Linked DNA regions of Homo sapiens: all the other regions are linked to region 4. Evidence: promoter capture Hi-C in 16 types of primary human blood cells and fetal thymus (Javierre and others, 2016). All regions are on one chromosome and are shown on one strand. Each heading gives the region's core, a stretch centred on a gene start or on the middle of the fragment in contact. The rest is flanking DNA. Distances are from core to core; before and after follow the strand shown.

Region 1 (4,650 bases), core at 243-2,742, 290 kb after region 4:
AGTCTCAAACTCTTGGCCTCCTAAAGTGCTGAGATTATAGGTGTGAGCCACCACTCCTCGCTGGTGATGTTAGCTTTGATCACTTGGCTGAGGTGTGTCCCTCAGGTTTCTCCGGCATAAGATTAACTATTTTGCTTCATGTAATTAATAAGGAATTTGTAGGAGACACTTTCAAACTGTGTAAAAATCCATTCCTCATTGAGCTTTCCCCACTGGTGTAAGCATCTGTTGATCATTTCCTAGCTCCATTGGTCTCTCCTTACTAGGTGACTTCCCAAGAGCTTTCCTCCTCCTCCATTAATTTCTATGTTTGTTTATTTGTACCTATATGGGCTAGTGGATTTCTCTTTTATTCAGTGAGTTATAATCCATTGTTCTCATTATTTGGATGAGTAAATTGTTCCAGATTGAGTCAGTGGGAGCCTATTCAGGCTGGCTACTGTTTCTTTTAGACACGTCCCAGTATTTCTTTGAGAACTTTCTTTCTAGTCCAGCAAGATGCTGCAGGCTCATCTTGTACTTTCTAGTAAGTCCTGGAAGCCATTTGTTTTTAATGAATGCATTGATACAGTGCATTCCAAAATTTTATTTTGTGTTAATACTACTAGTTGGGATTTATTTGTGTTATTTGGAACTTTTGTTTACATGTTCTTTGGAGAGAAGACCTTGTGATCATCTCATGAGTAACTTTCTTTTTATGATATGTGAATACTCATTATAAATAGGTAATACAGATTTACCTTGTACATAATTTAAGCTAGGGGTTACGTACTAAAGCAGCTGTTACTCTTTAACACTAATTGTGTACTTGAAATTTTAATTTGTATAACAACCTTGTAGAACATGGGGCAGTGTGCCCTTGTTAAATGTAGGAAACTGAGGCTCAGAGGTTAATATACTGGTCCAGTGTCATGTGGCTAATGAATGGTTGAGCCAGAGTTTCAATTCAGTTTAGTCTGACTTCAAAGCTTACTTTTTCTGATACCCTTTGTTATGACATAACACATTTTCTTACTCTAAATTATAGAATTAGTTGAATAACAAAAAGGTTTTTTGTTTGTGTGTTTGATTTTGAGACGGAGTCTTGCTCTGTCACCCAGGCTGGAGTGCAGTGGCACGATCTCAGCTCACTGCAAGCTCCGCCTCCCAGGTTCATGTCATTCTCCTGCCTCAGCCTCCCGAGTAGCTGGGACTACAGGTGCCTGCCACCATGCTGGGCTAATTTTTTGTATTTTTAGTAGAGACGGGGTTTCACCATGTTAACCAGGATGGTCTCGATCTCCTGACCTCGTGATCTGCCCACCTCGGCCTCCCAAAGTGCTGGGATTACAGGCGTGAGCCACTGCACCTGGCCAACAAAAAGTTTATTTCTGGCTTAAGGTCTTTCTCCTGCCGCGTAATTCTGTGTCTGTATGAAAATCAAGTCTGAAGAATTAAAGTACGTGGTTCTCAGAGGAAAGCTGACTTGTTTTTATTAGAGTGGTTCTGCTGTTCTGGTGTTTCTTGAATTACCCAGAAATGCCCTAACCTTGTTATTTTCTTCCTATAGGAACTTGCTTGCTAGAAAACAAAGTGCAAGGCTTGACAAACACAATGACTTGGGATGGAAGTTATTTGGGAAAGCGCCACTCCGAGAGAATGCCCAGAAGGATTCAAAGAGAATACAGAAGGTACACAAGATACAAAATCACAGAAATAGGCTGTTGGATGTGTTTAGCATATATTCATGAACCTTGCAAAAATGACCATATTGAGTCTGAAACTGGAAATCGCTTTGTATTATCTGCATACCACGTTCCTCAGATTTAAGTCTGTATTCACAATGTGGATGAATTTAACCTTCATTTCTTACAGCTTGTAACATGCACATAGGAAAGTCCATTTGACAGAGGTCGGCTTTAGATGTTTATAATGGTATTTAGACAGAGCTGGGCTCTAGATGTTTATAACTGTATTTAATCAGTTTTAGTAATAGTTGCAAATGTGTTTATCATCAAATTTGTATTGTTTGATAGTAAAGCTTTCTCCCGTGGGTTTCTTGGAGCTCACATCCTTCCTGTGCTACTCTGGGACAGGAAGGCGAGGGCCGACATTCCCCGGCTCTGCTGGGATGCCTCTCCCTTGCTCACCCTGAGGCTGCCTACTTTTGGGGTGGGGATGGGGTTCATGCCAGGCCTGCATGTCCTCACCACTGGGCTGCCTTGCTCCTTACGGTGGGAGAGATGCCACTGCTGGAGGCTTGCTTGTGCACGGACACAGCAAGTCCACGGCCCAGGTAGCTGTGACCGTCGCTGCCTGCAGCTTCTCTTAGGCTGTGGGTCTCAGCCGGCTCGGCATCCTAAGAGTCTGCTGTCTGCCCCAAGTGTCGCGACATTGCCCCCAGCACCCTCGCTCCTCCAGCTTCAGTTTTATATTCATTGACATTTGCTCAGTAGACACTCTTGAGGCTCCACTAAGCGCCAGGCCTCATGCTTGGCACCGGAGTTGGAAGGGACACAGTACCCGTGCCCAACAGTGTCCCCATGGAAATGATTCCAGGGCAGGCGCAGGAGGAGTGGGGTGGCACAGACAACTGAGGTTAAAGGTGTGACAGGAAATTAATTGCTATGGGGATCATGTACTGAGTGATTACTGTGTGCTAGTTCTAACGGACTCAGCACTCGTGTTTCTAGTTCCTTTAAAACTCGCAACAACCTTGTGAAGAAGATAGTATTATTAAACTCAGTTTACCAAAGAAGCACTGAGACACAGAGGCTGTGTGACTTGATGTGCAGGGTCACATTGCTAGTAAGTAGCACAGCTGGAAACCGGTCCCAGACAGTGGGATGCCAGGACCCCTTTTGCAGGCAGGGCCAGGCAGGTAGTGGGGACAGCATGAGCTAAGGACAATGTGCAGCTGAGCCCAGGAGGCTGACCGCCGGGAGGAGGCTGACCGCCGAGAGGAGGCTGACTGCCGGGAGGAGGCTGGCCATGGGGCCTGTGCGCTGCACCCGGTAGCCTGCCTCCAACCCCAAGGCTTTGCAGAGCCTCTGAGTGTTTTACGTAGGTAAGGAGTGATGGCATCACCCTGGCAAGAATATGGCTCTTGGACCAGCCCAGGCAAGAGAAAGTGGGGTCTGGCCCAGTGCTGCGTCGTGGGGTTACAGAGGATGCCCCTTTAAGTGCTAAATGGATGGGATTGACTTGCTGGGTGACCTGTTAGGTGTAGGGAGTGGTTTGTTGGGGGTGAGGCGGGAGCGCAGTGTTGAGGCTTCTGGGCAACAAAGTGGGTTTCCACATGCCACATTCTTCACGCGTCGGCAGGTTAAATTTGGTTTGAGTGTTGTCTGCCATTCTCTGCTGTAATCATCTGGACCCAGGGGACTCACTAAGTAAATCAGTGTTGGAATTCATTTTTGTTGATTGTTACATTTTGAATTTGAATCACTTATTGTGTAGGCTTATTAAAATAGCATACAATTAAAGTATGATGAGTTTGTATGCAAAGCTTAGCTATAAATTTCTTAGGAAATTAAATAACCAAGCTGCTATAAAGTTTTTAAAGAAATCACTTTAAAAAAGCAACAATTACATTAAAAAGAAATAGATCTTCCCATGGCACTTAATATCACTTACATAATGTTTGAACTTGTTTGTCTTTTTAAGACCCTGTTTTTTTTTCTTTTTTTTGAGACGGAGTCTCACTCTGTCGCCCAGGCTGGAGTGCAGTGGTGCGATCTTGGCTCGCTGCACGCTCCGCCTCCCGGATTCATGTCATTCTCCTGCCTCAGCCTCCCCAGTAGCTGGGACTACAGGTGCCCACCACCGCGCCTGGCTAACTTTTTGTATTTTTAGTAGAGACGGGGTTTCAACATGTTAGCCAGGATGGTCTCAATCTCCTGACCTTGTGATCCACCTGCCTCGGCCTCCCAAAGTGCTGGGATTACAGGCATGAGCCACCATGCCCGGCCCGACCCTGTTTTTTTTTTGAGGGGAGCATGGATTATGTTCTTGACCTTAGAGGATTTTTTTTTTTCTGTGAACTGAAATGACTAGGCCAGTTCATTATGCGGTAACACAATATTGCCAAGAGGAGGACCATCTGCTTCCGTCGTCAATAATAAAGAATGTAACTTACCTGCGCGAGTCATTCAATCCTGCCCGGGACCTGCTTGCTTGTCTCTGGCCCTCTCATCGCTCATCTCCCAACCCAAGGGACTTGGTGAAGCCTGGGAGGGGCTCAGGGTCAGGGACTCAGCACTGTGGGGAGGCCTCTGCGCTGCTGGCTGGGGCTGGCTGCTGTCATAGGCATGGGCTCACACAGCCTGCACTTGAGAGAGGCAGGCGCTGGGGCCATGACAGCCTAGACTTGTGATCAGGATGGTGACAATAACTCCAGTCAGGGCCGAAGCCTAGAGAAAGTGTTGAGGAAATTCCTTTTCCTTCTCTGGAAGTTTTCTTATTACTTGAGAGAGCAACATCACGTGGTGACATAAGAACTTGGACTTTGGAGTTAGACTACCAGGGTTTGTATCCCAGCTCTGCTACGGTTTGGTTGTGTGACTTTGGGCAAGTTATTTAACCTTTCTGAGCCTCATTTTCCTCATCTCTACAGTATGGAGAACAGTAGCACCTGCCTCCATGGTGGTGAGGATTAAACGGGTGAATACA
Region 2 (4,397 bases), core at 1,749-4,248, 410 kb before region 4:
GTCTATTAAAAAGGGGTAGGGGGCGGCTGGGTGTGGGGGCTCACACCTGTACTCCTGGCACTTTTGGGGGGCAGAGAGAGATGGGAGGATCACTTGAGCTCAGGAGTTCAAGACCAGCTTGGGCAACATGGCAAAACCCCTTCTCTACAGAAAATACAAAAAGTAGCTAGATGTGGTGGTGTGTGCCTGTAGTCCCAGCTACTTTGGAGGCTGAGGTAGGAGGATCACCTGAGCCTAGGAAGATCACACCACTACATTCCAACGGAGTGAGACCCTATCTCAAAAAAAAACCTGGGGGGAGTAGGGGGCAGAATAAAGCCAGCACCTCCTCCAGGGAGCCGTCCCTGACCACCATCACCTGCTGCAATTTCTCCCCCTGCCAGGAATCCGCAGGCTGTCATCACTTCTCCTCTGGTTAGCCCCTCCCCAGAATAACAGTGGCTGGGGTTTCCAGCTTCCGGACCTAACAAGCCCCTCCAGGGCAGGTACGGGGCTGTGTGCCTTAGACCCTTCCACCTCACACCAGGGCACCCAGTGAGACCTGTGAGGGAGCGGGTAGCAGGTGTTGAACGATTGCCCCTTCCTGCCAGTGACTGACATTTGTAAGAGAGACTCAGCATGAAATGACAGCTGCACGGTGTGGGCACATTGATGTACTTAGCAAATGAGGCCCCTGCTGCTGCCGTGTCCTGTGTCCAGTCCTGGTGACACAGCCCTGGGACCTGAGACCTGTGCCCAGGCCCCATGCTGGCTGCTGTCATGGTCTCCCTGCATCCAGGGCAGGCTGGGCCCATTTCGAAGGTGAGGGCTGGGGGAGGTGGGGGATCTCAGCTGGCACTGCTCAGTGATGTAGGGGCATGACTGGGACACAGGCAGGCCTGGGAACAGCGTCTCTCCCCACACGGGCATTTTCCTTCTTCTGCCTCAAAGTTGCTTTTGCATCCTGGCTTTTTTTTTTTTTTAATTCCCCAAATGAAACTTCCCAGTGCACTTGGTGACTCGTCTGTGGGCTGTGAAGTGGCGTTCGCTCTCTGCCTTCAGAGATGAGCACATCACCACTCAGACCCATGGGAGGGCTCAGAACTACCCGGCGACAATGCAGTGTGTGTGTGTGGCAGGTGGGTGTGTGCACGGGGGTGTGTGTGGAGGTGCTGGCAGGCGTAGGCCTCTGATGTGGCACCAGCCCTGGTGACACAGAGCCGTGTGACCAGCACCGAGCCCCCCACGACACCCCCACCAGCCACAACTCCAGCCACTTGGGCTGTGATTCCAAGGAGACTGTAGAGTGGGCAGGGAACTCAGGTTTATAAAGGGAACACTGGGAAGGAGGGAGGAGTGGTGGGCCCAGGGTGGGATATGAGCAGGGAAGTGGGAGAGGACGAAGGAGGGGGGTGGGAGCCCAGAGGCTCTACGGCCCAGCAGCTGCAGGGTGTGTGATCCTGGGAAGCTTCCATACCCTCAGACCCTCGGACAGTGAGGGAGGCTGCCCCGTGTGTCACATTGTGTTAGGAAGATCTGTCGGGGTATAGCAGCAAAGAGAGCTTCCTACCTTAGATGTGGTCAAGGCCTGGTGGGATGGCCTCAGGAAAGAGGCAGTGGATGGGGCACATGGCCTGAGTGAGCTCCAGACCTTGCTAAATTGCAAAGGCACCCATGCGGTTCCTCTGCTGCACCCCTATCCAGGACTCCCCATAGAATGCAGACTTCTGGTCCAGCTGGCCTGGGCAGGACAAGCTCTCCAGGTGGCGCTATGTGCATAGCCTGAGCTAAGCACCTCCAGCTTGCAGCATGGCTTCTCTAGCTTGCTTTATTTATTTATTTAGAAACAGGGTCTCACTATGTCATCCAGGGTGGTCTTGAACTCCTGGGCTCAAGCAATCCTCCTGCCCAAGCCTCCCGAGTACCTGGGACTACAGGCATATGCCACCACTGGCTCCAACCTTAATGTGCATGCAAATCCCAAGGGCATCTTATTAAAATGCAAATTCTGACTGAGGAGGTCCATGGTTGGCGCGGGATTCTGCATTCGTAACAGGCGTCCAGGTGACTGAGGAATGCTGGATGCTGATGTTGCTGGTCTGGTGGACCCATCACACTATGAACCACACTGCTTTATACTCATGGGTCTCAAATGTTCCTATGTCTCACAAACCCCCCAGGAACCTGTTAAAATGCAGATTCCTGGGCCTGGCTCCCAGGGATGCTGACAAGGCTAGTCCTAGGGTTTCGCTGTGCTAGAAGTCCAATGTGTGGCCGACATGCCCAAACATGTTCTGTTCTTTTCTATTCTTATCTCTTTTACTTTTTCTTTCCTTATCTCTTTTACTTTTTCTTTTCTTTTCTCTTCTCTTCTCTTCTCTTCTTTTGAGACAGGGTCTCACTCTGATGCCCAGGCTGGAGTGCAGTGGTGCAATCTTGGCTCACTGCAGCCTCAAACTCCCCAGTTCAAGCAATCCTCCCATTTCAGCTTCCTGAGTAGCTGGGACTATGGGCACATGCCACCACGTCTGGCTGATTTTTAAATTTTTTTGTGGAGATGGGTTTTTGCCATGTTGCCTAGGCTGGTCTTGAACTTCTGGGCCCAAGCAATCCCCCTGGCTTGGCCTCCCAAAGTGCTGGGATGACAGGTGTGCGCTACCATGCCCAACCAGCCGCACATGTTGTTTTTTTGTTGTTGTTTTTTGTGTGTGATGGAGTTTCGCTCTTGTTGCCCAGGCTAGAGTGCAATGGTGTGATCTTGGCTCACCGCAACCTCAGCTTCCCGAGTAGCTGGGATTACGGGCATGCGCCATCAAGCCCGGCTAATTTTGTATTTTTAGTAGAGACGGGGTTTCACCATGTTGGTCAGGCTGGTCTCAAACTCCCGACCTCAGGTGATCCACCCCCCACCTCCAGGCCTCCCAAAGTGCTGGGATCACAGGCGTGAGCCACCATGCCTGGCCCATGTTGTTCTTATCTCATTAACCCAGTGGGCTAAAAACTCATTGCCACACTCAGTAGCTTAAACCACAGAAATGGATTCTGCCACAGTTATGAAGGCCGGAAGTCTGAAATCAGTGTCACTGGGCAAAAATCAAGGAGAATCTGTTCCCTGCTCTTCCAGATTCCAGGGACTGCCTGCATTCCTTGACTTGTGGCCACATAATTCCTATCTTCAATGCCAGCGTCTTGGAATCTCTCTCTGCTCTATGTCCACATCAACTTCTCCGTGTGTGGTCAAATCTCTGTCTGCCTCTCTCCTGCAAGGAGATAAGCCAGGCTAATGGCCCCTTCTCAAAATCCTTAATCACATCTGCAAAAACCCTTTTCTAAATAAGGTACCATTCACAGGCTCCAGGAAGTGATCTCTTTGGGGGCCTTGTACACCAATAGCCTGTAAACCGCCACACTCTGCTGTCTTTCAAATGACAACTCACCAAGCCTCTGTCCTCATTTTCTTTGAATACTTGGCATGTAGTCCAATGCCTGGAACAGGCAGGATGTCACTAAATGTTTATATTTTTTAATTTTTATTTATTTTATTATTATTCTTATTATTTTTGAGACAGAGTTTTACTCTGTCGCCCAGGCTGGAGTGCAGTGGCATGATCTCTGCTCACTGCAACCTCCAGTTCCTGGGATCAAGCGATTCTCCTGCCTCAGCCTCCTGTGTAGCTGGGATTACAGGCATGTGCCATGACGCCCGGCTAATTTTTTTGTATTTTTAGTAGAGATGGGGTTTCTCCATGTTGGCCAGGCTGGTCTCGAACTGCTGACCTCAAGTGATCCACCCACCTCGGCCTCCCAAAGGGCTAGGATTACAGGTGTGAGCCACCACGCCTGGCCAAAAGTCACTAAATGTTTGTTGAGTAAATGGAAGTAGGTTTTAAATAGGTGTAGGGAAGGAAGTGGGCCAAGAACTTGAATGCAGAGTCTGAAAATCATGGGCAGACATCAAAGGACTGAATTGTGGGGGGTATATTTGGATGTCAGGTTAAAGAGTTTGGACACTGTCCTATGGGCAAGAAAGAGCTTATATGAAGTCCTTGCATAGGTGATTCATCCATCCATCCATCCATTCATTCATTCAATACTCAGCAGCAACATGCAGAGCTCAGCTCTTGGGGGAATGAGGACAGGTGTCCTAGAAAAGATAGCATTGAACAGCTGGCTCTTTCTCCCACCAGAGTTGTGTTTTAATAAGTTCTAGTATTTCTAGCAGTTACTGCTTTAAGTGTGTGGCTACTAGATTTTCTGGCTCATTCAGATTCATGACAATGAAATCTTTGTGGATTGTGCCTGGCACCCTTACATAATACCACTCTTCCCGTGAATGCTTTCCATCATGCGTTCTTCCTTATCAATAGTAATTTGCCATTTTTCAAATGTCTGCTGTGATCTTCTACTTCTCAATATTT
Region 3 (4,924 bases), core at 1,650-4,149, 270 kb after region 4:
TTCCCCATGGGCTTCAGAGTGCGGTGCCTGCCTTTCAGATGATTTCCTTAGGACCGAGTTCCTGGGACTTGCTGCTTCATGACCAGCGTCTCGGGCCCCTGTCAGCTCTGGCCTGTCCTCCCTGGGGTGATGGCCCTGCCGGGAGCCGTCTGTCCTTGGCAGATGGAGTTCACTGTTAGTGAGAGCCCAGCCTCTGTTTTACAAACGAGCATGCTCCAAGCAGTGGCTGATGGGCGGTTGGAATTCACCATGGCTCTGGCCTCTGGTTCCTGTAAATTGAGGCGTAGGAAAATTAGTCCTCCCCGGGTCCTCTGGTTTACAGAATGCGGGGATGTCCAGGTTTCTCCTGTCCTCCTCATCCCTGCACTGGTTCCACGGGACTGGCTGGACACAGCGTCACTGGTTCCCAGCACAGCTGACACCCCTTCCAGGAACCTTCTCACTATCCCCGGGGCAGAGGTGGCCTTCCGGGCATGCGTGCTCCTCTCCCGTCTCCTCTGCAGCTTCCTTTTAGTCCAGTGGTGTTTCAGGTGTCTTGCTCTTACTGGAGCTCCTTAAGGACAGGGCCTAGATCTCAGTCATCCCCAATCCCCAGCTAACCCCAGCTCATGTTCCTGATTGGCCCTGGGACACTAGCAGAACGTGACTTGGTTCTGTTCACTAGTGCCATATAGAGTCAGGTTCCTGGAGCTGGTGTGAGAGTGGGAGGTTTGAATCTTCATGGGCAGGGGCTACATTGTGTCAGGCTCTGAGCTTGGCATTTTCCATGTGAAAGGAGACAAGGGCTCCAGGAGAAATGGCCTGTATTTGCTGGGGTGTAGGGGCGGGCCACATGCCACTGAGCTTTAGAAGCCTGCTGGGTTAGGAATCAGCACACAGCCTGGATCAGTGAAAATACAGGAACAAGAAGATAATAGGAGAGTTTGTGCTGTAAGGCAGGTGTTTACAGTTTGATTTTTCTTGAGTGAGTAGAAATGTTGGCGTAGCTTGAAAAAAAATCTGAAATAATTCACTGTCCACGGAAAGGGCTGGAAAGGAGTTATCTTAAATTCACATAGATTAAAGAAAGCATAGCTGGTCGTGGTGGCTCACGCCTGTAATCCCAGCACTTTGGGAGGCTGAGGTGGGCGGATCACCTGAGGTTTGGAGTTCGAGACCAGCCTGACCAACATGGAGAAACCCCGTCTCTACTAAAAATGCAAAATTAGCCGAGCGTGGTGGCAACGCGCCTGTAATCCCAGCTACTCAGGAGGCTGAGGCAGGAGAATCGCTTGAACCCGGGAGGCGGAGGTTGCGGTGAGCCGAGATCGCGCCATTGCGCTCCAGCCTGGGCAACTAGAGCAAAACTGCGTCTCAAAAAAAAAAAAAAAAAAAAAAAAAAAAAAAAAAGATGAAAGAAAGCATTAAAGAAATGAGATAGCATGGGAGGGGAAAGACTTATTAAGGAGCGAAGTTCTCAGTCCTAGCTGCACAGTAGGATTACCTGGCAAACTTAACAAAGAAAAATTAATATATGCATTCTCCCCTCAGAGATTGATTTTCATTGGTTTGGGGTGAAACCTGCGCCTCAGGATGCTTGAAAACTCCCCGGGTGACTCTAGCACGCAGAGGGTTCAGAGCCACCAGTAGAAAGAATGGACTTTCAATTCAGACTTCAGCTCAAATATAGGCACTTTATCGCACGATCTGAGGCAAGGTTCTGTCTCTGAATTTTCTCTTCTTCAAGACAAGCCCCGTGAGGATGGGTACCTACATTTCCGGTCATCAGGAACTATATTCCCAGTACATGGCATAGCACCTAGAACATAGTTGGTTCTCAATATGTATTTGTTGAATGAAAAAAATGACATGGATGAATAAGGTTAGGATTAAATGAGAGGAGATGCTTGGGCCTATATAATTAACAGACTGCTCTTAGTGTTATTTATTTATTTTACTTGTATTATTATTATTTTTGAGACAGAGTCTTGCTCTGTCACCCAGGCTGGAGTGCAATGGTGCAATCTTGGCTCACTGTAACCTCTGCTTCCCGGGTTCAAGCGATTCTCCTGAGTAGCTGGGATTACAGGTGCGTGCCACCAGGCCCAGCTAATTTTTGTATTATTTTTGGTAGAGACGGGGTATCATCATGTTGGTCATGCTGGTCTCGAACTCCTAACCTTGTGATCCACCTGCCTCGGCCTTCCAAAGTGCTGGGATTACAGGCGTGAACCACCACATCCGGCCCCTTAGTGTTATTTATTAATAAGCAGAGTTAACAGACACAAACTCTGATGGTAACTGATTGATGATATCTCCATTCTACAGATGGTAAAACTGAGGCTAGAGAGGTTCATTTCTTGCCTAACATCAGGCAGCTTGTTACGAAGCTGGGATTTGAGCTCCTGACCTGCCTGAGTCTAAATCCCACGTATATCCCCTCCCACCTTAAGTCAGATCTTACTCCTTAAGATTTCTAATATGGAAGGAACATAGTAATGTCATTCCTTCCCTGAAATGCAATCCCTAGACCCCTCATAATTTGTGCTACTTACAAACTTATTGTTAAGTCCTCCTCTCCTCTTTTCCTTACTATTAGGTGGAGATTAAGAATAAATTAGTATTTTTCTTAGTACTGTTTTGTACTAAGTTACATGGGCATTTTTGCTCTGCCATCTCTCTCTCTCCTTGTAAAAATCTAAGTTAGGCCGGCGCAGTGGCTCACGCCTGTAATCCCAGCACTTTGGGAGGCCGAGGCGGGCGGATCACTTGAGTTCAGGAGTTCAAGACCAGCCTGGCCAACGTGGTGAGACCCCTGTCGCTACTAAAAATAAAAAAATTAGGGCAGGCGCGGTGGCTCAAGCCTGTAATCCCAGCACTTTGGGAGGCCGAGGCAGGCAGATCACGAGGTCAGGAGATCGAGACCATCCTGACTACCACGGTGAAACCCCGTCTCCACTAAAAATACAAAAAAATTAGCCGGCTGTGGTGGCGGGTGCCTGTAGTCCCAGCTACTTGGGAGGCTAAGGCAGGAGAGTGGCGTGAACCCGGGAGGTGGAGCTTGCAGTGAGCCGAGATCGTGCCACTGCACTCCAGCCTGGGCAACAGAGCAAGACCCTGTCTCAAAAAAAAAAAAAAATTAGCTGCCCCTGGTGGCGGGTGCCTGTAATCCCACCTACTCAGGAGGCTGAGGCAGGAGAATCCCTTGAACCCGGGAGGCGGAGGTTGTAGTGAGCTGAGATTGCGCCACGGCACTCCCGCCTGGGCAGCAGAGTGAGATTCCGTCTCAAAAAAAAAAAAAAAAAATCTAAGCTGATGTTAGAGAGTGGATCCCTGTTTACTTTTCCCCTCCTGTATTTAAATATTAGAGAGTGTTTGAAGGAGATTTCAAGGAGAGTATGACTTCAGGGAGAACACTAGATCTTGCTTTGGACTCAGTGACTTCATCAGTGGAGACGTTCGTGGCAGAGTCATTTCAGGGTTAGTTAATGAATACCTTTTAATGCAGTTCTATCTGGCAGGTTTTATGTCAGACCTTGGGGATACAAAGACCAAGTAGGAAGCCCGCCTGCCCTACAAATGCAGGGGGAGGTGAGGTGCAAATAACAAAAATGCAATACTCCCAGCTCTGTGTCAGAGATAAATGTGGACGTGCTTTGGGAGCACAGAGGAGGGACTGCGTGGGGAGGGGGCACATGAGCCCAGGAAGGCTGCACGGGAGAGTGGTTTGAGCTGAGTTAGCATGTATTGAAATTTTATGTAAAGGAGAGCAAAGCCTGCAGAACTTAAGTACATGAAGTGAACACACTCGTGTGTCTGCCACCTCAGTCAGTACAGAGACTATGACTAGAACCCCCAGAAGTCTCCTTTGGGTTCCTTCCCTGTCAGCATTTCGCTCCCCATGGGTAACCACTGTTCTGACTCTGTCACCACACATGAGCTCTGCCTTCTTTAGGTAAATGGACTCATCCATTATGCCCTCTCATGTCTGGCTTTCTTTGCTCAACACTGGCAAACTGACCCTGGGAGGTTTTGCATAGCAGTAGCATCCATTTATTGTTGTCTAGTTTTCGGCTGTATGGGTATCCCACTCTTTGTTCTCCCATGTGTGGAGGTTTGATTTGTTCAGGGTCCAATGGTTACAAATAATGCCCACCATGGTGTTCTCACGGATGTCACTGGCGTGTGCGTGCCTGGGGGGTGGGACAGGTGGGTCTCCCGTGGGTCCCACTCGCGGTGTGTGGTGATGCCGGCTGCTCTTGATCCTTCCGAAAGGTGATATTGTCAGTTTATTTTTCTTTTTGTCATTCCGGTGACAAGGTAGGGGTACTTGGTTTTTTTTTTTTTTTTGAGACAGAGTCTGTCACCCAGGCTGGAGTGCAGTAGTGAGATCTCAGCTCACTGCAACCTCCGCCTCCCAGATTCAAGCGATTCTTCTGCCTCAGCGTCCCAAGTAGCTGGGATTACAGGCGTGAGCCACCACGCCTGGCTAATTTTTGTATTTTTAGTAGAGATGGGGTTTCACCATGTTGGCCATCTCCTGGCCGGGCGTGGTGGCTTACATCTGTAATCCCTGCACTTTGGGAGGCCGAGGCGGGTGGATCACCTGGCCAACATGGTGAAACCCTGTCTCTAGTAAAAATACAAAAAATTAGCCAGGCGTGGTGGCGCACACCTGTAATCCAAGCTATTTGGGAGGCTGAGGCAGGAAAATCACTTGAACCTGGGAGGTGGTGGTTGCAGTGAGCTGAGATCTTGGCACTGCACTCCAGCCAGGGCAACAGAGTGAGAATCTGTCTCAAAAAAAAAGGCTGGGCGCAGCGGCTCACGCCTGTAATCCCAGCACTTGGGAGGGAGCCCTTCTATTTTGTTCTGGAAGGTTGTCTTGGCTAGTCTTGGTCTTTTTCATTTCTATATAGATTTTAGAATCAGTTTGGCAGATTGT
Region 4 (5,022 bases), core at 2,523-5,022:
CACATCAGGTCCTAATATGGCTTTTATTGGTCTAGAAGCTTATGCACTTTTTGAAAAGACAAGTTATTGTCCACTTAGACCCAACATTCAGTGATGAGACAGGGACAGGATAAGGCCCATTGGTAAGGGAAGAATGAAGGGGTGAAATAGCAGTCACATAGCTATTTTGAAACTCGGTGGAGTAAACATTGCCAGGTCCTCTACTTTAAAGCTAGGGAATGTAAGGCTTTGGTTCTGCAACCTGGAAGTGGCTCAGCAGCACAGGAGTTGGCAAACATTTTCTGTAAAGATCTAAACAGTAAATATGTTAGGCTTTGTGGGCCACATACAGTCTCTATCACATATTCCTATTTCTCCTTTTCTTTTTTAAAGATATGAAAGTCTTTCTTAGTTCAGGAGCTGCAGTTTGCCATTGGTCCCCACACACTGGCCTGCACTGACACATCCTTCTTTTTCCATCACACTTCTGAAAAGGGCATTTTAAAATGCGCCAGTTTGGGCTACTGAGCCTGCTTTCTGCCGGTGGAAAGATTGGGAGTCTAGAAGTCCTTTGACACTTTGAACTGTCGCTTGGATAAGCTAGAGCATTTTTGCTAATATGTTCACCTCGAAACTTTTGTGGGTTTCCATGTATTTTATTCCATTCCACTCATACCAAGAGACAATTCTTTTTGAGGTGTGTTTAGCTCTCTAGACTTAATTACTGCTGTGTTTGTCACATTGGCTGCAGTGAGATCGTGACATTAGGATTCCTGGGAGCCTGCGCTGGGCAGAATTTAAGATGGCTCCTCCATGATCTTCACTCTCTGGGTGAAAACTGTCGGTCAGCCCATGCCCAGGATTGTTGATCAGTGCTGAAGGTCCTGAGGCTGTTTTTAGCATAGTCTAAAACTTAAGCAAAGCAATAATTATAATTGAGCAAGCAAAATTGTTCTTTAACATGGAATCGATGCTGTTACACAACCACATAAGCACTATTTTAGTCCGTTCACGCTGCTCTAACAAAATACCAGAAACTGGGTGTCTTCTAAACAACAGAAATGTATTTTCTGAGTTCTGAAGGCTGAGCAGTACAAGATCACGGTGCCAGCAGGTTTGGTGCCTGGTGAGGGCCCACTTCTGGTTCATAGAAGCCCATCTTTTTGCTATAACCTCCCACAGCAGAAGGGGTAAGGCGGCCCTGTGGAGTTGTTTTATGAGGGTGCTAATCTCATTCATGAAAGCTGAGCCTTCATGACCACATCACCTCCCAAAGACCCCACCTCCTAATATCATCACATTGGGGATTGCTTTGCAACATATGAATTTTGGGGGGACTCACATATTTGGACCATGGCAAGCCCCTTAAAAGCAGAGTTTTCTCCAGCTGGGAGCAGAAGGGGATGACAGAGAGGCTGGAAGGATAAGAAGGATCCGACATGCTCTTACTGGCTTTGAAGATGGAGAGGGCCACGTTTAAGGACCGGAGAGTGACCTGTAGGAGCTGAGAGTGACCTCTGGCCATCAAGCATGGAGGGTCCCCTTAACTTTCTGCTAGAGGTACACAGTGAATAAGCCTAGACACAATGACATGCAGTGGGTGCTTAATAAAGATCTCTTGGGAAATGAGCATTAAAGCAACATTTACTGGGCTCCTGCTGTATGCCAAGCCCATTTCAAGCTGAGGAAACAGATGACTAAACTGACTAAGTACCTGCCCCTAGGGCCTGTTTTCTCGCAGAGGCACTTATATAGTCCAGTGAAGAAAGAAATCTTCCAGAATGATTCCTAAAGGCATATTCAGAGCCTGGCAGGGCTGAGGAAACAGTGGTGAATCAGACCCACCTTGGCCTTGGGTGCCCACAGTGGGTAAAGCCAGACTCCAACTTACAGCCAAAGCCCCAGGCAGAGTGAAGCTTATACCCTTAGGAAAAAAGTAGGGGGAGGCTGGGTCACAGCACTCAGCATCAGCACCGAGGCCGCAGCTCTGTGTTCCAGGAGCATCTGCCCGAGGCAAGAGGGAGCGGAGGCCCTGGCTGGGGGCAAATCCCGACGCTGTGAGCACCTGGCTTCTCGGAGCCTGGAATATTCTAACGGGACCACTGAATTCGGTTGTTTATTATTTTTATTTATTTATTTTGAGACAGGGTCTCGCCCTGTCACTGGGCTGGGGTGCAGTGGCGCAATCAGGCGTTCAGAGCTCACCTCGGTCTCGACCTGCTGGGCTCAAGCAATCTTCCCGGCTCAGCCTCTCAAGTAGCTGGGACTATCGGCACGCGCCACCACGCCCAGCTAATTTCTTGTGTTTTTTTTGGTAGGGTTTTTTCCCTTGTTGCCCAGGCTGGTATGGAACTCCTGAGCTCAAGCGATCCTCTCACCTCAGCCTCCCAAAGTGCTGGGATTATAGGCGTGAGCCACACGCCCGGCCTGGGTGTTTATGATTTAGAATGTTGGTGAGAGGTGACAGTGTGCTGGCAGTCCTCACAGCCCTCGCTCACTCTCGGTGCCTCCTCTGCCTGGGCTCCCACTTTGGCAGCACTTGAGGAGCCCTTCAGCCCACTGCTGCACTGTGGAGGCCCCTTTCTGGGCTGGCCAAGGCCAGAGCCGGCTCTCTCAGCTTGCAGGGAGGTGTGGAGGGAGAGGCGCGAGCGGGCACCGGGGCTGCACACGGCGCTTGCGGGCCAGCTGGAGTTCAGGGTGGGCGTGGGCTTGGTGGGCCCCGCACTCGGAGCAGCCGGCTGGCCCTGCCAGCCCCCGGCAATGAGGGGCTTAGCACCCGGGCCAGCGGCTGCGGAGGGTGTACTGGGTCCCTCAGCAGTGCCAGCCCACCGGCGCTGTGCTCGATTTCTCACCGGGCCTTAGCTGCCTTTCCGAGGGGCAGGGCTCGGGACCTGCAGCCCGCCATGCCTGAGCCTCCCACCCCCTCCATGGGCTCCTGTGCTGCCCGAGCCTCCTCGACGAGCACCACCCCCTGCTCCACGGCGCCCAGTCCCATCACCACCCAAGGGCTGAGGAGTGTGGGCGCACGGTGCCGTTCTCGCAGGCAGCTCCACCTGCAGCCCTGGTGTGGGATCCACTTGGTGAAGCCAGCTGGGCTCCTGAGTCTGGTGGGGATGTGGAGAACCTTTATGTCTAGCTCAGGGATTGTAAATACACCAATCAGCACCGTGTGTCTAGCTCAGGGTTTGTGAATATACCAATCGACTCTGCTGGGGCCTTGGAGAACCTTTGTGTCTAGCTCAGGGATTGTAAACGCACCAATCAGCACCCTGTCAAAACAGACCACTCGGCTCTACCAATCAGCAGGATGTGGGTGGGGCCAGATAAGACAATAAAAGCAGGCTGCCGGAGCCAGCAGTGGCAACCGGCTCAGGTCCCCTTCTATTGTGGAAGCTTTGTTCTTTCTCTCTTTGCAATAAATCCTGCTGCTGCTCACTCTTTGGGTCCACACTGCCTTTATGAGCCGTAACAGGTCTGCAGTTTCACTCCTGAGCCGGCGAGACCACGAACCCACCAGAAGGAAAAAACTCCGAACACATCCGAACATCAGAAGGAACAAACTCCAGACGCGCCACTTTAAGAGCTGTAACACTCACCGCGAGGGTCCGTGGCTTCATTCTTGAAGTCAGTGAGACCAAGAACCCACCAATTCCGGACACATTGGGAACTTAGAGCAGTGCTTGGGACATGGTTATCAGCGTCAGATATTTCCTTAAACTAGCGTGAAGTCGACTTTAACCTTCCAGCAGTGTGAGTGAGGGCCCTGACCCTAGAATCAACGCCCAAAGAGCTGTGGCGCTACAGCGGGCGGGGACATGGGGTGCGCATGCGTGCGGGGGGGTACGCGTGCGTGCAAGTGCGCGTGCGCGCGCAGGACCGCTGAGGCGGGAGCCCCGAATGCGGTTCTCGCTTGCTGCGTGGCGGTAAAGGACCGCAGGTGTCGTAAAAGGGCCGCAGTGGCAGCGTCCTGGCCGACGGCTAGTAGCCCATTTTGGATACCGTCCTCGCTGCGGAAAGTTGGGGCAACCTGTTGCTAGTCTGGTCGTTGGTGACAGCGAGGCTTCCGCGCTCGCTGCTGGTGAGCAGCCCCGGCGTGCCCCGCGGGCTGGAAGAGGCGGCGGCGTGATGCGGCCCGTGGACGCGGACGAGGCGCGGGAGCCCCGCGAGGAGCCGGGCAGCCCGCTGAGCCCCGCGCCCCGCGCCGGCCGCGAGAACCTGGCCTCCCTGGAGCGCGAGCGCGCCCGGGCGCACTGGCGGGCCCGCAGGAAGCTGCTGGAGATCCAGAGCCTGCTCGACGCCATCAAGAGTGAGGTGGAGGCAGAGGAGCGGGGCGCCCGGGCCCCAGCACCCCGCCCGCGTGCGGAGGCTGAGGAGCGGGTGGCTCGGCTGTGCGCCGAAGCAGAGAGGAAGGCTGCGGAGGCGGCGCGGATGGGCAGGCGGATCGTGGAGCTGCACCAGCGGATCGCCGGCTGCGAGTGCTGCTGAGCCGGCGAGGCCGCGCGGGTCTGGAGCGGAGCGCGGCGGGGAGTGTCCCGCGTGGAAGGCGCTGGGTAGGCAGGGAGGGGAGCGCAGAGCCGTGCCACGCTCTCCGCGGAGTTGGTTTCATTCTTTTTTCATAGGTAATTAGAGAAAATAATTTGATATGTTGTTGTAAAGAGTCATGACCACTGGAAGTATTTTCAGGACGTAGACCTGGTGGGTCACTACGTGGGGGGAGAGAGGTGTGAAGCGGAGGTACATGCTGGAAACGTGTGAATGTTGTTACGAGATTGGAGCGTTTGCGATGACCTTCCTGCAGGTGGAAGCATTGTGCACAGGTGGTTGGGTTTGTTTGACTCCCGGATATGAGAATATCAAGCTCAAAATTTATGTTGTGATGATGAATTTCTCCCACTTGTACTTTAGGTGGCCAACTGACGAACTGTGTTCACCTGATAAGGAGTCGTGGCTGCTTGGACAGGCTCAAACCAAGAGAGCCTTTCGTTTTGTCTCCCCTGTTTTTCTGCCTGCGTTTTCTCCACATTAGCCACTCAATTTCCAGTA
Region 5 (5,040 bases), core at 1,048-3,547, 320 kb after region 4:
AGCATTGATGACCTTTCTTGTCTTTCTACCAGGAGTACTTTCTTTTTTCTTTCTTTCTTTCTTTCTTTTTTTTTTTTTTTTTTTTTTTGAGACAGGGTCTTGTCCTGTTGCCCTGGTGCGGTTATGGCTTACTGCAACCTTGAACTCCTGGGCTCAAGTGATCCTTGTCTCAGCCTCTTGAGTAGTTGGGACCACAGGCACAGCACCTCTGTGCCAGGCTTAGGAATACTTCTTCATTGTTTGAGAATCATGATCCTTTCTTTTCGCTCTTAAAACAAATGTGCATTGAAGCAGGCTTTTCCCCCGCTTTTTAAACCAACAAACGTTAAACCTAATTCAGGAGCCTCGTGCCCTTCTTGTCTTTAGCACTGTGCAGATCACACGTGGAATGTAGACCCTGCCCCTGGATGCGTCTGAGGGGCTCCCCATACCTCATAGTCTCTCCTCTGGCTCTCCTCTCTCTCCTGGGGCTTGTCCCAGCACCTCTGGGTAACGTGTTGAGACCTTCAAATCTAGAGCAAAACAACTTTGACTCTGCACCATTCCCGGTTCAAATCCTGGTGCTAGCCTGCTTGTGGGTGTCTCTTGGCCACTGCTTCTGCTGTCAGAGTGCCTCTTCCTCTTGGCCTCTAGCCCACGTCTTACCTGTCTGTCCACTCAGCTGGCCCCTTTGTGAAAGCTTCCCATGTCCCCCTGGCCTCAGGCATCCTGCCCTTCCTCCCACAGTGTGTGGCTCGCCCCTCCTGGCACATCTCACGGTCTCACCTGTGTGGGAGCCTCTGCCTGCATCGTATTGCCCCTGTCGAGTGAGCCCTGCTGGGTTGGAGATTGAGGATCTCCTAAACTGCCAGGCCCGCGTGGTCCCTTCACAAATTAGTTTCCTCTTTTCCACATGGCCCCTTCCCTCTTGCCCTGCATGCTGAGTCTCATGCAGAGCCCTCTGCATGAGACTGGGGCTCTGCTCAGGCACCCTGCCTCCCTGCCTTTTTTCTTCAACCTTAGCTGGGTCATCAGACCACACCCCACAAGTTGGCTGCTAGTGAGGTGCTGCTGCCATGTTGGTATGGTCTCGTCTTTCCCAGCGTGATTCCTTATAAGCTGCCCAGAGCAGGGACTTCGAACAACTGTGCTTCTAAACTGACAGCCTGCAAACTTTTTTGAAATTATCCCCAGTTAGACACTTTAAATTGAGACTCATTGTACTGACATAACTAAGTGTAAAGCTGAAGCAAATTGTATTTATGTACTGTGTTTTATTGTTTTGTTTTTTTTAAAAATGCTGTTGTGACCAATCAAACTGATCTGCTGCTAGAACTTTGAAGAACCTTGTTCTAAATTCCTTCTGGGGGCTGGGTGCAGTGGCTCACGCCTGTAATCCCAGCACTTTGGAGGCTGAGGTGGGTGGATCACTTGAGATCAGGAGTTCCAGACCAGCCTGGCCAACATGGCAAAACCCTGTCTCTACTAAAAATACAAAAATTAGCTGGGCCTGGTGGCACGCGCTTGTAATCCCAGCTACTTGGGAGGCTGAGGCAGGAGAATCGCTTGAACCCGGGAGGCAGAGGTTGCAGTGAGCCAAGGTTGCACCACTGCACTTCAGCCTGGGTGACAGAACGAGACTCCTCAAAAATAAATAAATAAATTCCCTTTAGGGTTGTCCAGGGTGGCAGCTGTCACTTAAGTGGGCAGTTTATTTTACCTGTTAGTCTGCAGGGATTTTGACGAGCACAGCAAGACGGGCATCGATGCTTGGTTTAAACCAAGAGACTTCAAAATTTGGTCCCATGCAGAGATGGAACTTGGGAATGATGAGTTGGACTGAAGTGGACCGCACCAGTACTTGCCTGGCACACAGAAAGGGCTTGGCACTTGAGGGAGTGAGTGCCCAGCCATTTTACATATCTTATCTCTTGACCGCCACAGTGGTCTGTACAGTTGCTACTGTTTTATAGCTGAGAACAGACTGAGAGACAAGACGACTCACCCAAGCCAGGACCTAGAACTCTGGTTTTACTTCCAGAGCCTTATCCCTTGCTAGCCCGACCTTAGCGCTGATAATCCACAACTGAGTGTTCTTTCTCCAGTGCTGTTTCTTCCCTCCGGGATCCTGGGAGTGAACAGTCCTCTTTCTTCTTTCTAAAGTTGGTTTGTCTGGCCTGGACAGTGAGCTTACTGTTGTCACCTCCAGGTTGCCCTGGGAGAACCGGGTCTAGAGCAGGACCTGTCACCATTTCCAACACCATTTCTCTTCTGAAAGGGTGCCTAAGGTTTTGGAAAGGGCTTTGCCTGGGATTTCAAGTATGAGCAGGCTAGGCCACCTGTGTTACTTTATTATTTTAATCATGCCTTGGTCTGTGATTAAAACAAGCATTTGACCCTGCGTCTCTGCTGATCTGTGCACTTAGTTCAGTATTTGAGGTTTCGGTCACGGTTGTGAAAACTACTGAGACTGAATCTGAATGATGGATTACTTCTGATGCATGTCTGCCAGAGGCTTGCATGAATTCTGTGATGAGGAGTGTGGCTGCGGAACCCCAGCGCGTGGCCTGTGACCCAGCTTCCCCACTTGCCCGCCGGGTAAGTCACGGACACCTCTGGGTCCCCGTGTGTGTTTGGTGCACAGGGAGTGCTGGAGAAACAGCAGCCCTTGTTGGTCTGTGGCACTTGCTTTTTCTCCCCCTCAGACCTGAAACCACTGGAAGAGGCAGGAAACCATGCCTGCCTCAGGTAGCCTGCATCCCTGCTTTTTTTTCTTGAACCTTCGTTGGGCCATCTGACCACAGCCACAGCTTTGCGCTGGTGAGGTACAGCGTGTCCTTGTGCAGCTGTCTTGTTGGCGTGGTCTGGGATGGGGCAGCCCCTTCGGGGGGCTGGTGTGGAGGAAATGGAGTTAACCCAGCATGGTCTAGGGTGGAGCAGCCCCTTCGGGGGGCTGGTGTGGAGGAGATGGAGTTAACCCAGTGTGCACGCGTAAAGCACTCAGAGGTGCTGGGCTTGTTAGCGTCAGCCGCCGCCACTGTTTGTTGCTGTTGGTAATAGTAAGAAGCTCTGACTGAAGCGATCTGATGTTTCTGGTCATGACTCAAGGCTTTTACTTCCTTTTACTCCTACTTTTTGTATCTGTGCTGTTGGCAACTTGGCAGGGCTCCTAGATTGTTGTTTGGCACTAGAGCATGGTTTTCTGCCTTTCCCGTGGTTTCAGGTCTGAGGGGAGAGAAAGCTAGTGGCGCAGACCAACAAGGGCTGCCCTTCTCCAGCACTCCCTGTGCACCAGAGGCTGTGACATCACCTCATTCCTTCCAGCAGCCCACTCAGGGTGAGGCAGGCGGGGTTTCCCATTTTGCAGATGTGGAAAGAAGGCTTAGGGATTTGAAGTGAGTACCTTGCCCGAGGTCACAGCTGGTGGTTGGTGGATCTGAATTTGCTCCCAGAGCTATCTGGCTGCAGAGGCCACACCTAAGCCGTGTAGGACTCGGGCTTTCCCCTCTAAAACTGCACACCTGTGGGTTTGAGTGTATTCACAGATGATATTGGGCCGGCTCAGGGCGGCAGGCCCAGCCTTGCTGGCTGTATGCTTCAGGCAAGTCACTTCACTTTGAGCCTCAGTTACCCTGTCTTTAAAATGGGTAACACTTGCCAAGCAGATTGCTGTGAAGACAAAGTGAGTCCACATGCACAGAGCACACAAAAGCCGATGGAAATGGGCATCCACATCCTGCCATGGCTGATTTTGGGCCCAGCATTCTGGCCTTGGCATACAGTTCACCAGACCAGGCTCAGCAGATAAGTAGCACCTCATGGGGTATGTGTTACTAATTCTTGTTAAAATGCAGCATGCCTCAGAATCTTTCTCAACACACAGCTTTTGTTTGATTTCCTATGAAATTGGAGACTTTGACATTCAGGTGCTAGACTTGAAGCTTCATGAGGGCTAGTGCCGTCTTAGGTCACGGCTGTGTACCCCATACAGTGTAGATGTTCAGATGCTTGAATCCAGCAAGGAATGAGTCCGTGTTTTCAGTTTTTGGTAAGTGGAAGTAATTTTAGAATTGTAATGAAACCATGTTAAGCCACAGTAAACAGTGTTAAGACATGTGACCATATACATCCAGGTGTACAGAAACTGCCCCACCCAACTGCTTCTTGGTGCACGTCCTTCTCATAGCCTGTGTATTTTGAGGAAATAATCTATTTCTTTATACTTTTTAGAGGCCTTTCTGGCTAAGAGAATAATTGCTTGCCGCATAATTTCACCAGTAACACGCCTCTTGACAGCTAGTTTCCCTGAAATTCATTTAGCAATTTCTCACCACCTCATGACAAACATGAAATCTTAGGTTAACACTACCTTCTTTGTCCTATCTTCTCAATGAGATTATCTTCCCTTCAGGGGCATTCCTGAGAGCCTTGTCTGTAATATTTCCTTAATTATCTATAATCATCTTAAATGATTGTGTTTTTTGATTTTGCACAGAGCGAAGTACCTACACATTATTTCAGAAGCACCAACCTGTTTGGCTCTCCTGAGTTCTTCCAGCTGGGCGTTTGGAATGTGGGTCACCGGGTGTGAATGAGCTCTTGTGGTTGCAGTGCACGGGTGAATCGGTGACCCAGTGATGTGGAGGCTGCTCTTAGATTTCCAGGGCATGGCAAAACTATTTACATAACAATTTGCAGTGGCAGCTTCCCAGTGGCCGTGATAATAATCAGTTAAAATTTACAGTGTCCAGAAGAGAGAAAACATGCCTGTTACCCAGGAGACAGTAGACCTGAGGCAGCGTTTGAGGGCCCTCCTCAAAGGGGCTGCTTTGATAATGAGATCCTTTGTTATTTCCCCACCAACGAGGGAAGCGTGCAGTCATATCATAAAGCAATGGTCTCAGCTTTGGAACTCTAAGACCCCTTTAGGCTGGGCACAGTGGCTCACGCCTGTAATGTCAGCACTTTGGGAGGCTGAAGCGGGTGGATCACCTGAGGTCAGGAGTTCAAGACCAGCCTGGCCAACATGGTGAAACCCCATCTCTACTAAAAATAAAAAAA

What was found. Contacts are between HindIII fragments. The CHiCAGO score rates a contact against its expected background, and 5 or more counts as called.
Region 1: a fragment that was not itself captured here is called in contact with the fragment with the promoter of LINC02482 in region 4 in 12 of 17 cell types (total CD8 T cells, naive CD4 T cells, naive CD8 T cells and 9 more); the score reaches 12.3 in total CD8 T cells.
Region 2: a contact is called between a fragment that was not itself captured here and the fragment with the promoter of LINC02482 in region 4, in 2 of 17 cell types (total B cells and naive CD4 T cells). The highest score is 8.7, in total B cells.
Region 3: a fragment that was not itself captured here is called in contact with the fragment with the promoter of LINC02482 in region 4 in 14 of 17 cell types (total CD8 T cells, activated CD4 T cells, non-activated CD4 T cells and 11 more); the score reaches 15.4 in total CD8 T cells.
Region 5: a fragment that was not itself captured here is called in contact with the fragment with the promoter of LINC02482 in region 4 in 13 of 17 cell types (neutrophils, naive CD4 T cells, naive CD8 T cells and 10 more); the score reaches 18.4 in neutrophils.

The regions. Positions count from the first base shown.
Region 1 is chr4:6,965,755-6,970,404 of GRCh38, forward strand. It overlaps TBC1D14 (TBC1 domain family member 14), which reads left to right. Exons shown (of 14, transcript NM_020773.3): 3 at 1,550-1,670. Among named protein-coding and RNA genes, the nearest start is that of TBC1D14, 58 kb to the left of the region's middle. The HindIII fragment of the contact is 1,052 bases long and covers 967-2,018 here.
Region 2 is chr4:6,262,622-6,267,018 of GRCh38, forward strand. No RefSeq gene overlaps it. Among named protein-coding and RNA genes, the nearest start is that of WFS1, 5.0 kb to the right of the region's middle. RefSeq lists enhancers at 245-1,023, 1,812-3,011. The HindIII fragment of the contact is 3,106 bases long and covers 1,446-4,397 here.
Region 3 is chr4:6,944,395-6,949,318 of GRCh38, forward strand. The region is part of intron 2 of TBC1D14 (TBC1 domain family member 14); the gene reads left to right. Among named protein-coding and RNA genes, the nearest start is that of TBC1D14, 37 kb to the left of the region's middle. RefSeq lists enhancers at 1-175, 176-1,001. The HindIII fragment of the contact is 6,413 bases long and covers 1-4,924 here.
Region 4 is chr4:6,670,109-6,675,130 of GRCh38, forward strand. LINC02482 (long intergenic non-protein coding RNA 2482) reads right to left here and starts at 3,773. Exons shown (of 2, transcript NR_134665.1): 1 at 3,576-3,773; 2 at 620-885. MRFAP1L2 (Morf4 family associated protein 1 like 2) reads left to right here and starts at 3,967. Exons shown (of 1, transcript NM_138699.3): 1 at 3,967-5,022. The coding sequence starts at 4,105. The coding sequence ends at 4,464. RefSeq lists an enhancer at 2,961-3,569 and a silencer at 4,042-4,271. The HindIII fragment of the contact is 2,330 bases long and covers 3,371-5,022 here.
Region 5 is chr4:6,988,821-6,993,860 of GRCh38, forward strand. The region is part of intron 3 of TBC1D14 (TBC1 domain family member 14); the gene reads left to right. Among named protein-coding and RNA genes, the nearest start is that of CFAP184, 52 kb to the right of the region's middle. The HindIII fragment of the contact is 3,241 bases long and covers 678-3,918 here.